2 separate regions of the Homo sapiens genome follow, and region 2 is linked to region 1. Evidence: promoter capture Hi-C in human tissues and cell types (Jung and others, 2019). All regions are on one chromosome and are shown on one strand. The core of a region is centred on a gene start or on the middle of the fragment in contact, and the rest is flanking DNA. Distances in the headings are between cores, read along the strand shown. Region 1 holds the start of ADPRHL1 (ADP-ribosylhydrolase like 1). Region 2 overlaps SLC9D1 (solute carrier family 9 member D1).

The links. Contacts are between HindIII fragments. The study calls those that stand out against the background at their distance.
Region 2: a fragment that was not itself captured here is called in contact with the fragment with the promoter of ADPRHL1 in region 1 in 3 of the 25 tissues and cell types used here (H1 embryonic stem cells, bladder and mesenchymal stem cells).

What each region holds. Positions count from the first base shown.
Region 1 is chr13:113,449,025-113,454,883 of GRCh38, reverse strand. ADPRHL1 (ADP-ribosylhydrolase like 1) reads left to right here and starts at 1,396. Exons shown (of 8, transcript NM_001394807.1): 1 at 1,396-1,660. The coding sequence starts at 1,447. RefSeq lists enhancers at 2,863-3,364, 5,366-5,725. The HindIII fragment of the contact is 9,965 bases long and covers 1-5,859 here.
Region 2 is chr13:113,514,044-113,519,384 of GRCh38, reverse strand. The region is part of intron 7 of SLC9D1 (solute carrier family 9 member D1); the gene reads right to left. Among named protein-coding and RNA genes, the nearest start is that of SLC9D1, 26 kb to the right of the region's middle. The HindIII fragment of the contact is 4,216 bases long and covers 1,100-5,315 here.

The DNA.
Region 1 (5,859 bases), core at 147-2,646:
GGTTCAAGTGATCCTCCTATCTCAGCCTCCCAAGTAGCTGGGATTACAGGTGCCCACCACCATGCCCGGCTAATTTTTGTATTTTTAGTAGAGACGGGGTTTCATCATATTGGTCAGGCTGGCCTCAAAATCCTGAGCTCAGGGGATCCGCCCGCCTCGGCCTCCCAAAGTGCTGGGATTACAGCCATGAGCCACCGCGCCCGGCCTGCATGCTGGTTTTGAAGTTTGTTTCTGAATCTCAGGATCATGCTAGCTGGCATGACTGTGCTGATGGCTGCCTCCACCAGCAGACAGTGGAGGGTGAGGTGAACTCACTGCTTGAGATCCTCCGTTTTAACAAGTGCTGATATAACGCCAGGCGGTTAAATGCTTCCTACTGTCTCGCTGTACACTACGAGAGTTTTTATCAGACGCATTTCTTCAGTCCAGGTGTAACTCTTTGCTTCCCCTGGGTCTGATGGAAACCAGGCCCCGAGGAAGGAGACGGGAGAGACACAGCCCTGCTGGGCTCCCGGCCTCTGCGGAGAACTGTCCTGGGGTGGGGTCGGGAGATGGACTGTTTTCCTAATTTATTTCAAACCAGGAACCCTGGCTGTGTGCATTCTGCCTCACCCCCCGTCTCCATATTTTTTAATATTCTTTTCATGAGCTAGCAGGGATGATGTAAATACACTGAGCTGACCGAGGGCCGGATGGGAGGTTCTAGTGAAGCCTGCGGTTTGCTGACGACTTTCCCCCTCAGTGCAGTCCAATTATTTGGGAGCCGTTAAACACCGCATGCTGAGAAGACACCGTCATTGTTCACACAGGAGCTAGATAGACTTTGTTCCCTCTACACTGCATTTTTTAAAAGTTTTCTATCAAAAACACATTTCATAATCGAAAAGTTTTCTAAATGATAAAACCGCATGTCACAGATTAATCTCAACATTATGTTGAGTGAAGGAAGCCAGACACCGAAGGCCACACATTGTATTTGAAATGTCCAGGAAAGGCAGAACTGTAGAGACAGCAGATGGGTTGTTGCCCGAGGGGTGAGGGCACGCCCCGCAGCGGGCGGCAGTGACAGGCACGCCTGCACACATCTGCTCCCGCATCACCCCACGCCACACACGGGGAAGTGTGCGCACTCCTTCCAGGGACAGCGAGAGGAGCCCCTGCTCTGTCAACGCTCTGAATGTGCTGCGGCTGCCGGCAGAAGCTAGCAGGCTCCTCTGCTGAGGAGCTGGTGCCTGTCCAGACGCAGAAGAAAACTGACACCTCCCACGTGGGGGACAGAAAGGTCCTCTCATTGGTGCCACCTGCAGAGATAGACAAGGAGCGCCTGGCCATCAGAGGACGCTCCTGACAGTGACACAGTGACCACTATAAAAGTCAGGCGGGCTGAGGAGGAGACAAAGGCCAGGACGCTCCGCAGCTGTTGGGGAAGAGGAGCTGCCTCCTGGGATGGAGAAATTTAAGGCTGCGATGTTGCTGGGGAGCGTCGGCGATGCTCTTGGCTACAGAAATGTCTGCAAGGAGAACAGCACTGTAGGCATGAAGATCCAGGAGGAGCTGCAACGTTCCGGGGGCCTGGACCACCTCGTACTCTCGCCAGGAGAATGGCCCGTGAGTGACAACACCATCATGCACATCGCAACCGCCGAGGCCCTCACCACAGGTAGGCTGGGCCCACCGCGCTCCGGTGTGCGGGCTGGAGGGAACACTGGCTGCTCGAGTTCTCCCAGTAAGCCTCCGAGAGCTTTGAAGGCAGTGCGGTCCTTCAGCGGATGGTGTTACCTGATACCGCTGCTAAAAGTGGCAATTTAATCTGAGTGTCCCTCAAATTTGATATGCGGCAGATCACGTTTCTCCTGTGGTTTCTCTGAGGGTGACAGTATTACTTTACTTTGCAGTTATTAAGATTCAGTTTTTAAACGTGACTTTTCACTTGTATTTGTAAAGCGTTAACTAGGCCTAGCACCTTCTGTTTCTAATAGAGTTAAAGCCAGTGAAGCCTCTCTCGGCCGTGCTGGTGGGAGTAGGGTGAGGGCTCACTTCTCGCTGCAGAGATTAAGCCTTCTTGTTCTGAATTCATTACAAAGGGATGTAAAATAAGCCAGTTTGAAATGTGAACCCATTAATACTGTTTGGGGATTAGTTCTAAATTCCAATGAATTAAAGTTAGAATATCATCTCCCAAAATGGTTCAGCTTGGAGAGTTGCCCATACACAAATGTGTTCTAAGAAAATGACATAAACTTGATTGGACGAGATTGGAGACAAAGCTTCTTAAAATACCTTTAAGTAGCAAATTGATTTTAGGATCAAGCTTTTGCATGAATTTCAGGGAAATGGCAGGTGCACAGACATGCAGTCCAGCTTTCCTACGAGGCATTTGCTCTTCAAAACCCCGTGGGTGCTGTTTATCATGGCAGAATTAAAATCTGAGGGCTGCAGCTAAGTCAATGAAATCTCACTTATGCGTTCACTCCACCATTCTGTTCATCTGCCATGGACGTGCCCAGTTTAGTTCTGTGCTCACAGCAGAGGAATGCCATCGAGCCTGTGGCCGGTCCCTAAATAACGGGAGAGCTGAAGCGCCGGCGATAAGATAAGGCTCCCGGCTTGCTGGAGACGGGGAGGCGTCCGACTGTTCACAGCCTTGGCGTCCAGGAGCTCCTGCTTCTGGTTTTCCAGGCGGCCACTCGTGTGCCCTTAGGACCAGCAACCCCATGCTTGTGCCCCGCAGCCCAGAACAGGTGCACCCCACACACAGACACCTGTGGGACACAGCTCCGGCTTGTTTTCACCGTAGACGGCTGGAGCTCACTCTTGAGTTTGGCTTCCTCTGGGCGTCTGATGCCGTGTGTGCGCTCATACCAGCTCTGCATGTCCCATTTCTGGTAGCACTTGGTGGGCGTTTTGTAAATGGCAGCGTCCATGGCTGTGGGTCTGGTCCTGCCAGGCCCGCAGGGAGGGCAGCGGCACAGGACACTCCAAAAGTGCACCGACGGAGATCGGCCCAACAGGACACGAAATTCACACAGTTAAAAGGGTTACGGACGTTTAGGGCACTGTTTTTTGTTTGTTTTTTGAGACGGAGTCTTTCTCCATCGCCCAGGCTGGAGTGCAGTGGCGTGATCTCAGCTCACTGCAACCTCCACCTCCCAGGTTCAAGTGATTCTCCTGCCTCAGCCTCCTGAGTAGCTGGGGCTACAGGTGCCCACCACCACGCCCGGCTGATTTTTGTATTTTTAGTAGAGACGGGGTTTCACCACGTTGTCCAGGCTGGTCTCGAACTCCTGACCTCAAGTGATCCACCCACCTCAGCTTCCCAAAGTGCTGGGATGACAGGCGTGAGCCACCATGGGGCGCTATTCTTAAGGAGGAAGTAAGTTTGCTCTAAGCTCTCAGGGTCCTCAGCTGTGGACTGGAAGGGAGGGTTCACTGTGCTGCTGCAGCGTCTAGTTTGTGGGTCATGAGAAAATACGCATCCAAGATCACCCCTGGAATTGCTTACTGTGGGCGGCAAGCCACCCAGGCACTGAGGCAAGAGACAGAGGACACGAGCTGTTCCAGTATAATAAAACAAGAATAGTTATACCAGATATAGATCTTAGATATGATTATATATGAATATCATTAATCATTAGTTTGTAGCAATTACTTTTTATTCCAATATTATGATAATCCTCGCTCTATAATCATAGCCTAGGAAAAACCAGGCCATACAGAGATAGGAGCTGAGGGGACATAGTGAGGTGTGACCAGAAGACAAGAGTGCGAGCCTTCTGTTATGCCCGGACAGGGCCACCAGATGGCTCCTTGGTCTAGCTGTGACGCCAGCGTCTGGGAAGACGCCCGTTACCAGGCGGATCGTGGTCCAGCAGTAGCAAAAGGTGGCAAGGAACAACACCTGCTACTTAGCAGACCAGGAAGGGGGGGGGGGTCTCCCTTTCCCCAGGGGAGTTTAGAGAAGACTGCTCTTCCACCTCTTGTGGAGGGCCTGACATGAGTCAGGCTCGCCCGCAGTTATCCGGAGGCCTAACCGTCTCCCTGTGATGCTGTGCTTCAGTGGTCACACTCCTAGTCTGCCTTCATGTTCCATCCTGTACACCTGGCTCTGCCTTCTAGATAGCAGTAGTAAATTAGTGAAAAATTAGTACTATCAGTACTAATAGTCCCTGATATGCAGAAATAATGGCATAAGCTGTCTTTCTCTCTGTCTCCTCTCCCTCTCTGCCTCGGCTGCCAGGCAGGGAAGGGCCCCCTGTCCAGTGGACACGTGACCCACATGACCTTACCTACCATTGGAGGTGACTCGCATTCTTTACCCTGCCCCTTCTGCCTTGTATCCAATAAATAACAGTGCAGCCAGACATTCGGGGCCACTACCGGTCTCCGTGCATTGGTAGTAGTGGTCCCCCGGGCCCAGCTGCCTTTTCTCTTATCTCTTGTCTTGTGTCTTTATTTCTACACTCTCTCGTCACTGCACACAGGGAGAGACCCACCGACCCTGTGGGGCTGGTCCCTACAGCTTACCCCTCTAGAAACCAAAGCAAGCAGATTTTTTTCAACTCACTAAAAATCAAAGTCGAAATTTCACTTAAGTTTATCTTTGTTCTTTAAATAACAAATTGTAGCCTATGGAAGGGGGTCTTTAAGCTGTGTTAACAATGGTGAGGGCTGGGCACAGTGGCTCACGTCTGCAATCCCAGCATTGTGGGAGGCCACGGTGGGCAGATTGCCTGAGCCCAGGAGTTCTAGATCAGCCTAGGAAACATAGCAAGACTCCATCTCTACAAAACGACAATGGTGAGTGCTGACTCCACAGCACTTCTGTACCAGGCATTGTTCCAGCTGCTTCACGCATGTTATCCTCCACACATGCTCCTCACATCACCGTGGAGGCTGATTTTATCACAATCTTACAGGAGAAAAAATTGACATACAGAGAGGTTCAGGCGCTTGCCCAGTGCCACACAGCCCAGCGAGTGGCAGAGCTTGGACGGGAACCAGAGAATCTGGCCCCTGTGCTCGTAAGCATCCTCCCTGACTGCTGAGATCACGGTGGCCTGCAGGTATCCTAACAATTGCAGTGTGCAGGGGCTCTTCAGCATGCTTTCCAAAGACAGGCAGACTTTTACAAATGGAACTACGTTTGGCAGCTTTAAGTAAGCTGCACTGAAAAGTCCTTCACCCCACGAGCCACGGGGCTGTGTGGTCTGGCAAACCCTGGCTCTGCTGCTAGAGTGAGCACAGGTCTGAGGGTCGGGGCAGCCTGTGTGGCTCCCTCCTTCCGGGTGAGCCTCTCTGAACCGGGCTGCCTCCTTCCGGGTGTGTCTCTCTGAACGGGGCTCCCTCCTTCCGGGTGAGCCTCTGAACAGGGCTGTCTCCTTCTGGGTGAGCCTCTCTGAACCGGGCTGCCTCCTTCCGGGTGTGTCTCTCTGAACGGGGCTCACTCCTTCCAGGTGTGTCTCTCTGAACAGGGCTGCCTCCTTCCGGGTGAGCCTCTCTGAACAGGGTCCCTCCTTCCGGGTGTGTCTCTCTGAACAGGGCTCCCTCCTTCCGGGTGAGCCTCTCTGACCGGGGCTCACTCCTTCCGGGTGTGTCTCTCTGAACAGGGTCCCTCCTTCCCGGTGAGCCTCTCTGACTGGGGCTGCCTCCTTCCGGGTGAGCCTCTCTGACTGGGGCTGCCTCCTTCCGGGTGAGCCTCTCTGACTGGGGCTGCCTCCTTCCGGGTGAGCCTCTCTGAACAGGGCACGAGAGCAGACTCTGAACCAGGAAGTAGCCGTGTCTAGCGCTCTACAAGACACATAGGAGAGGTGGCATCCATGGCCCTGAAACGACAAGCCCATGTTGCCAGCGCATTATCAC
Region 2 (5,341 bases), core at 1,958-4,457, 63 kb before region 1:
CGAACAAGGTACTTTTTCTTACAAAAAAAAAAAAAAAGCGGCTGGGCGCGGTGGCTCACGCCTGTAATCCCAGCACTTTGGGAGGCTGAGGTGGGTAGATCACCTGAGGTCAGGAGTTCGAGACCAGCCTGACCAACATGGTGAAACCCCATCTGTTCTAAAAAATACAAAAAATTAGCTGGGCATGGTGGCGGGCACCTGCAGTCCCAGCTACTTGGGAGGCTGAGGCAGGAGAATCACTTGAACCCAGGAGGCGGAGGTTACAGTGAGCTGAGATCACGCCACTGCACTCCAGCCTGGGGGACAAGAGCGAGACTCCGTCTCAAAAAAAAAAAAAAAAGCTACTGTTATCAACAGATTTTAAAAGACCAATCTGATAGAAAAGGCTTATTTTAAAAAAACAGCAGAACCACACAAAACCCCTTGATGCCAGCAAAAATCTCTTTCTGGATAGAGATTCAGGTAATTGTTTTAGAAGGCTTGATTGACTTATTGTACAAAATTAAATTTTTGGTGAACAAAATATCTTGGCTTAGAATTTTAAAACAGTCTGAACAGACGATGACGTTAAGCTGTTGTGGCTACAGCTTTGTGCCTTTTAGGGTTACACGATTCAGGAGATGATAAAATTGCCTCCCAACTAATATTGTCCATGCGGAGGCTTCACAGATCAGCGATTTTCACCCTAAGGCTCGCATGGGCTTGTGGTCACCGCATCTCTCTTCATCTCGCAGCCTTCGCAAGACGGGAGGGAGGCTGCGAGATGAGTCTGTGGGATGCAAAGGAGCCACGGCCACCCCACATCTTCCGCAGATAACACGTTCACACCTGCGCCCCTTCTATTTAAAAGAAACAAAATCTCTCACTACATCTCACTTTTTAGAGATAGCCTTTGATGATATTACTGCCAGCATTTTGTAAATGTTTTAAATATTTTGTTCTCTTCCTTTGCACCGATCATAGTGAACTGGCTGAAATCAACAGACACTCAACTGTTGCCCGCTAGGCCATGGGCACCACAGAGCAGAGACCAGGTCTTCACCAAGGTCCCTGATGCAGGACCCCGAGTCCACACCCACAGGGCCTGCGCAGGAAACACTGCTCACGAGGGACTTCACGGGGCTGCAGGAGGAAGACAAGTGCTCGGAGTAGTGACGGGCACAAAACTTCAGCAGTGCAACCAGACAAGATGAAAATATTACCACACTGAAATATTACAATTTCTCTAATTTCTCAACACTTTCACTATTGTCATCTTTCTGAAATCTGCACTACCTTTTTGTGCTTATCACTACTATAAGCATTTTGATTTCTTCCTGTTTTCCATTCCTTTTATTAAACAGTTTAAATATACAGAGAACAAGGAGTATATCAAATGCTCACATACCCACTAAGGAATTTGCTAAATTTTAAACCTGTAACATATTTGCTTCAGATTTTTAAAGAAATAAAGTCCTAAGGGTGCCGCCAAGGAGCTCTGTAAACCCCTTGCTGTGGGGCCCCTCTTCCCTCCACCCACACTCCCCACAAGGAGGTCTGTAAACCCCGTGCTGTGGGGCCCCTCTTCCCTCCACCCACAGTCCCCACTTGACCTTATTCTGAAAGTTCATCATCCCCTTGAATGCATTTCTACTTAATGTTAACACCTATAGATCTGGAGGCAACACTGAGTTTATTATTTTGTAATATTAAACTTCACAGAATCAACATTTCTGCGACTTGCCGTTTTTGACCACCACTATATCTGCAAATTATCCATGTTGATGCACAAAGCTCTGATTCATTTTTAAAACTGTTGTAGAACAGACCACAGTTTATCCATTCATCTCTTGGTGGACGTTCAGGAATTCCATTTATTCACTAATACAAAAATGGCTGCATGTAATCCCAGCACTTTGGGAGGCCAAGGCGGGCGGATCACGAGGTCAGGAGATCGAGACCATCCTGGCTAACACGGTGAAACCCCGTCTCTACTAAAAATAGAATTAGCCGGGCGTGGTGGCGGGCGCCTGTAGTCCCAGCTACTCGGGAGGCTGAGGCAGGAGAATGGCGTGAACCCGGGAGGTGGAACTTGCAGTGAGCTGAAATTGTGCCGTTGCACTCCAGCCTGGGCGACAGAGCGAGACTCCTCCTCAACAACAACAACAAAGGCTGCATGAATATTCTAGCACATTGTGGGGGAAACCTCCTTTCCCCTCGCTTGCATTTTCACAAGAAGGGAATGTTTCCTCACCACTCCTGGCCTCTTGCCTGGTCCCACATACATTACTCCCAGGGAGACAAGGGCGCTCTTCCTGGAAATGGATAGAGCCCGTCTTCCTTTGTGAACCAGCCAGCCCACGGCACCTGGTCTCAAGGTTCTCTTGCAGACCTGAGTTTCACAGGGCAGGCCCTGCCCACGGAGGCCTCTGGAGGCCAACGCTGCTTGTGGCTGGACAATGAGTCTTGCTCCGAGGTTAAGAATGAAGCCTAAGAAGCTCATCACTGCCAGGCATGCAAACCACACCTTCTTCACAATCCAGCTGCCATTCTGACCTCCAGGTGCCTGCCTCCTCTGTTCCTCTTTCTATGTGTTTTCAGCACAGGCAAGGCAGAGTGGAGTTACACATTTACTGGACTCCTTCGAGGGTTGGGCCCCTCGAAGGGGCTAGAAATCTTGAGAAATAGAAAAGGAGCAGAATTTGCATCAAAATCCATGTAAGAAGAGTGACTGAGGCCGCTGCTGTGGCCAGAGCTAACACCTTTAAGCTCTGGTGAGACAGTCTTAAGTTTGGGCTATATACAAATTTCTTTTCTTTTCTTTTCTTTTTTTTTTTTTTGAGATGGAGTCTCACTCTGTGGCCCAGGCTGGAGTGCAGTGGTGTGAACTCAGCTCACTGGAAGCTCCGCCTCCAGGGTTCAAGCAATTCTTGTGCCTCAGCCTCCCGAGTAGCTGGGGATTACAGGCGTGTGCCACCATGCCCGGCTAATTTTTATATTTTCAGTAGAGATGAGGTTTTGCCATGTTGGCCAGGACGGTCTTGAACTCCTGACCTGATGTGATCCACCTGCCTTGGCCTCCCAAAGTGCTGGGATTACAGGCATGAGCCACCATGCCTGGACATATATAGGAATTTCTAATAAAATTTCAAGCATATGCAAAAGTAGAAAGAAAAATACAGTGCATCTCAAGGAACAAATAATCCAGTTTCCATGATCAGGCAGACTAACCTTGTTTCATACACTAACCTCCACTCTACCCTCCTAAGGGAAACCCCAGTCATCCTCTTAACCATACCTTTCAATGTGCATCTCTAAGACACAAGGCTGGTGTCCAAATTGGGAAGAATGAATTTAATGATCCTGTAAGCAGATGAGATTATCTCATATGTAGAAAATCCTAAAGATTCCACACACAAAAATCTATTACAATAAACCAGTTCACAAAGTTGCAGGGCACAAAATAAACACACACAAGTCAGCTGCATTTCTTTTTTTTTTTTTTTTTTTTTTTTGGGACGGAGTCTCGCTCTGTCAACCAGGCTGGAGTGCAGTGGCACGATCTCGGCTCACTGCAAACTCTGTCTCCCGGGTTCACGCCATTCTTCTGCCTCAGCCTCTTGAGTGGCTGGGACTACAGGCGCCCGCCACCATGCCCGGCTAATTTTTTGTATTTTTAGTAGAGACGGGGTTTCACCATGTTAGCCAGGATGGTCTCGATCTCCTGACCTCGTGATCCGCCCGCCTCGGCCTCCCAAAGTGCTGGGATTACCAGCGTGAGCCACCGTGCCCAGCCACTTACCTTGTTTTTAAAAACAATTATTATAAAATACTTTGGATCAAGAAAAAAGGTACAAAGCATGTCATGAACAACCAGAGCCATCACTGAGCTTCTGGAAGAAATGTCACAAGCAGCCGACTGCCCTGCGTCTCTCTCTGATGGCATGCCTCCCCATCTCTGGCACAGCCACCCGGCCACATCTGTCATTCTCAAACACTTCTTGTTGCTTTTAGTGTAAAAGTTTGCATGTATGTAAAGTTCAGACTTTAAACACATAAAACATGTTGCATTCCACATCTTCTATCTTTCCCTCCATGCTACAGAATTCACATTTGCTTCTGCAGCATTCCAATGTATGAATACATCTTAACTGTCCAGCATGTTACTGAATATTCAGTTGATTAATTTTTTGCTACTAAAAATAATGCTGTTTTGAATTATAATAATTTGCAAGAATTTTCTAGGATATGTATATAGAAATGGAATTTTCTGATTGCAAAATTGTTCTCCAAAGTGGCTGAACCAATTTACATTCCCATGGAGAATGCTTAGATCTTGCAACTCCACATTCTTGCCAATGGTAGATCAGGTTAAAAATGTCTGCCAGGGCCAGGTGCGGTGGCTCATGCCTGCAATCCCAACGCTTTGGGAGGCCGAGGCAGGAGGACTGCTCGAGGCCAGGGTTCAAAACCAGCCTGGGTAACATAGCAAGACCTCCATCTCTACAAAAAGACTAAAAACTTAGCCAGGCATGGTGGCACACGCCTGTCATCCCAGCTACTCAGGATGCTGAGATGGGAGGATCACTTGAGCCCAGGAGGTTGGGGCTGCAGTGAGCCAAGATCAAGCCACTGCACTCCAGCCTGGGTGACAGCAAGACTCGGTCTAAAACAAAGCTTGGCAGCAAGCTCGTGTGGATGGCGTCGATCTCAGTCCCATCAGCCTGCACCCCGAATACTAGCGAGGCTCATGTCTTCCTGTTGCAAGACTCGGTCTAAAACAAAGCTTGGCAGCAGGCTTGTGTGGATGGCGTCGATCTCAGTCCCATCAGCCTGCACCCCAAATACTAGCGAGGCTCATGTCTTCCTGTTGCAAGACTCGGTCTAAAACAAAGCTTGGCAGCAGGCTTGTGTGGATGGCGTCGATCTCAGTCCCATCAGCCTGCACCCCGAATACTAGCGAGGCTCATGTCTTCCTTTTTGTTCATCATTTAGGTTTCTTCTCCCGTAAGTTATTTGCTCAGATATTCTGCCTATTTTCCCATTAGGTTACTTTTTGGTTTGGATTTACAGACGTTCTTGATACATTCTGAATATTAATCCTTTGCTCTAAACAAACAATAAATAACTATAGGAAATGTCTTCCTCTGGCCTGTGGCTTATTAAAAAAAAATGCCTTTCAATAAAAGTTACAGTTGTCCCCATAGTGAGGTTAGTATGAAAAAGAAGGTTACAAAGTCAAATGTGTCATATGTATCAGTATTTTCTCTTTTGAATTCTGCATTTTATATTTTAAGGAATTCTACCCTAAGGTTATAAGGATATTTTCTATTTCCTTCTCGTAGTTCTAAAGTCAAGCTAA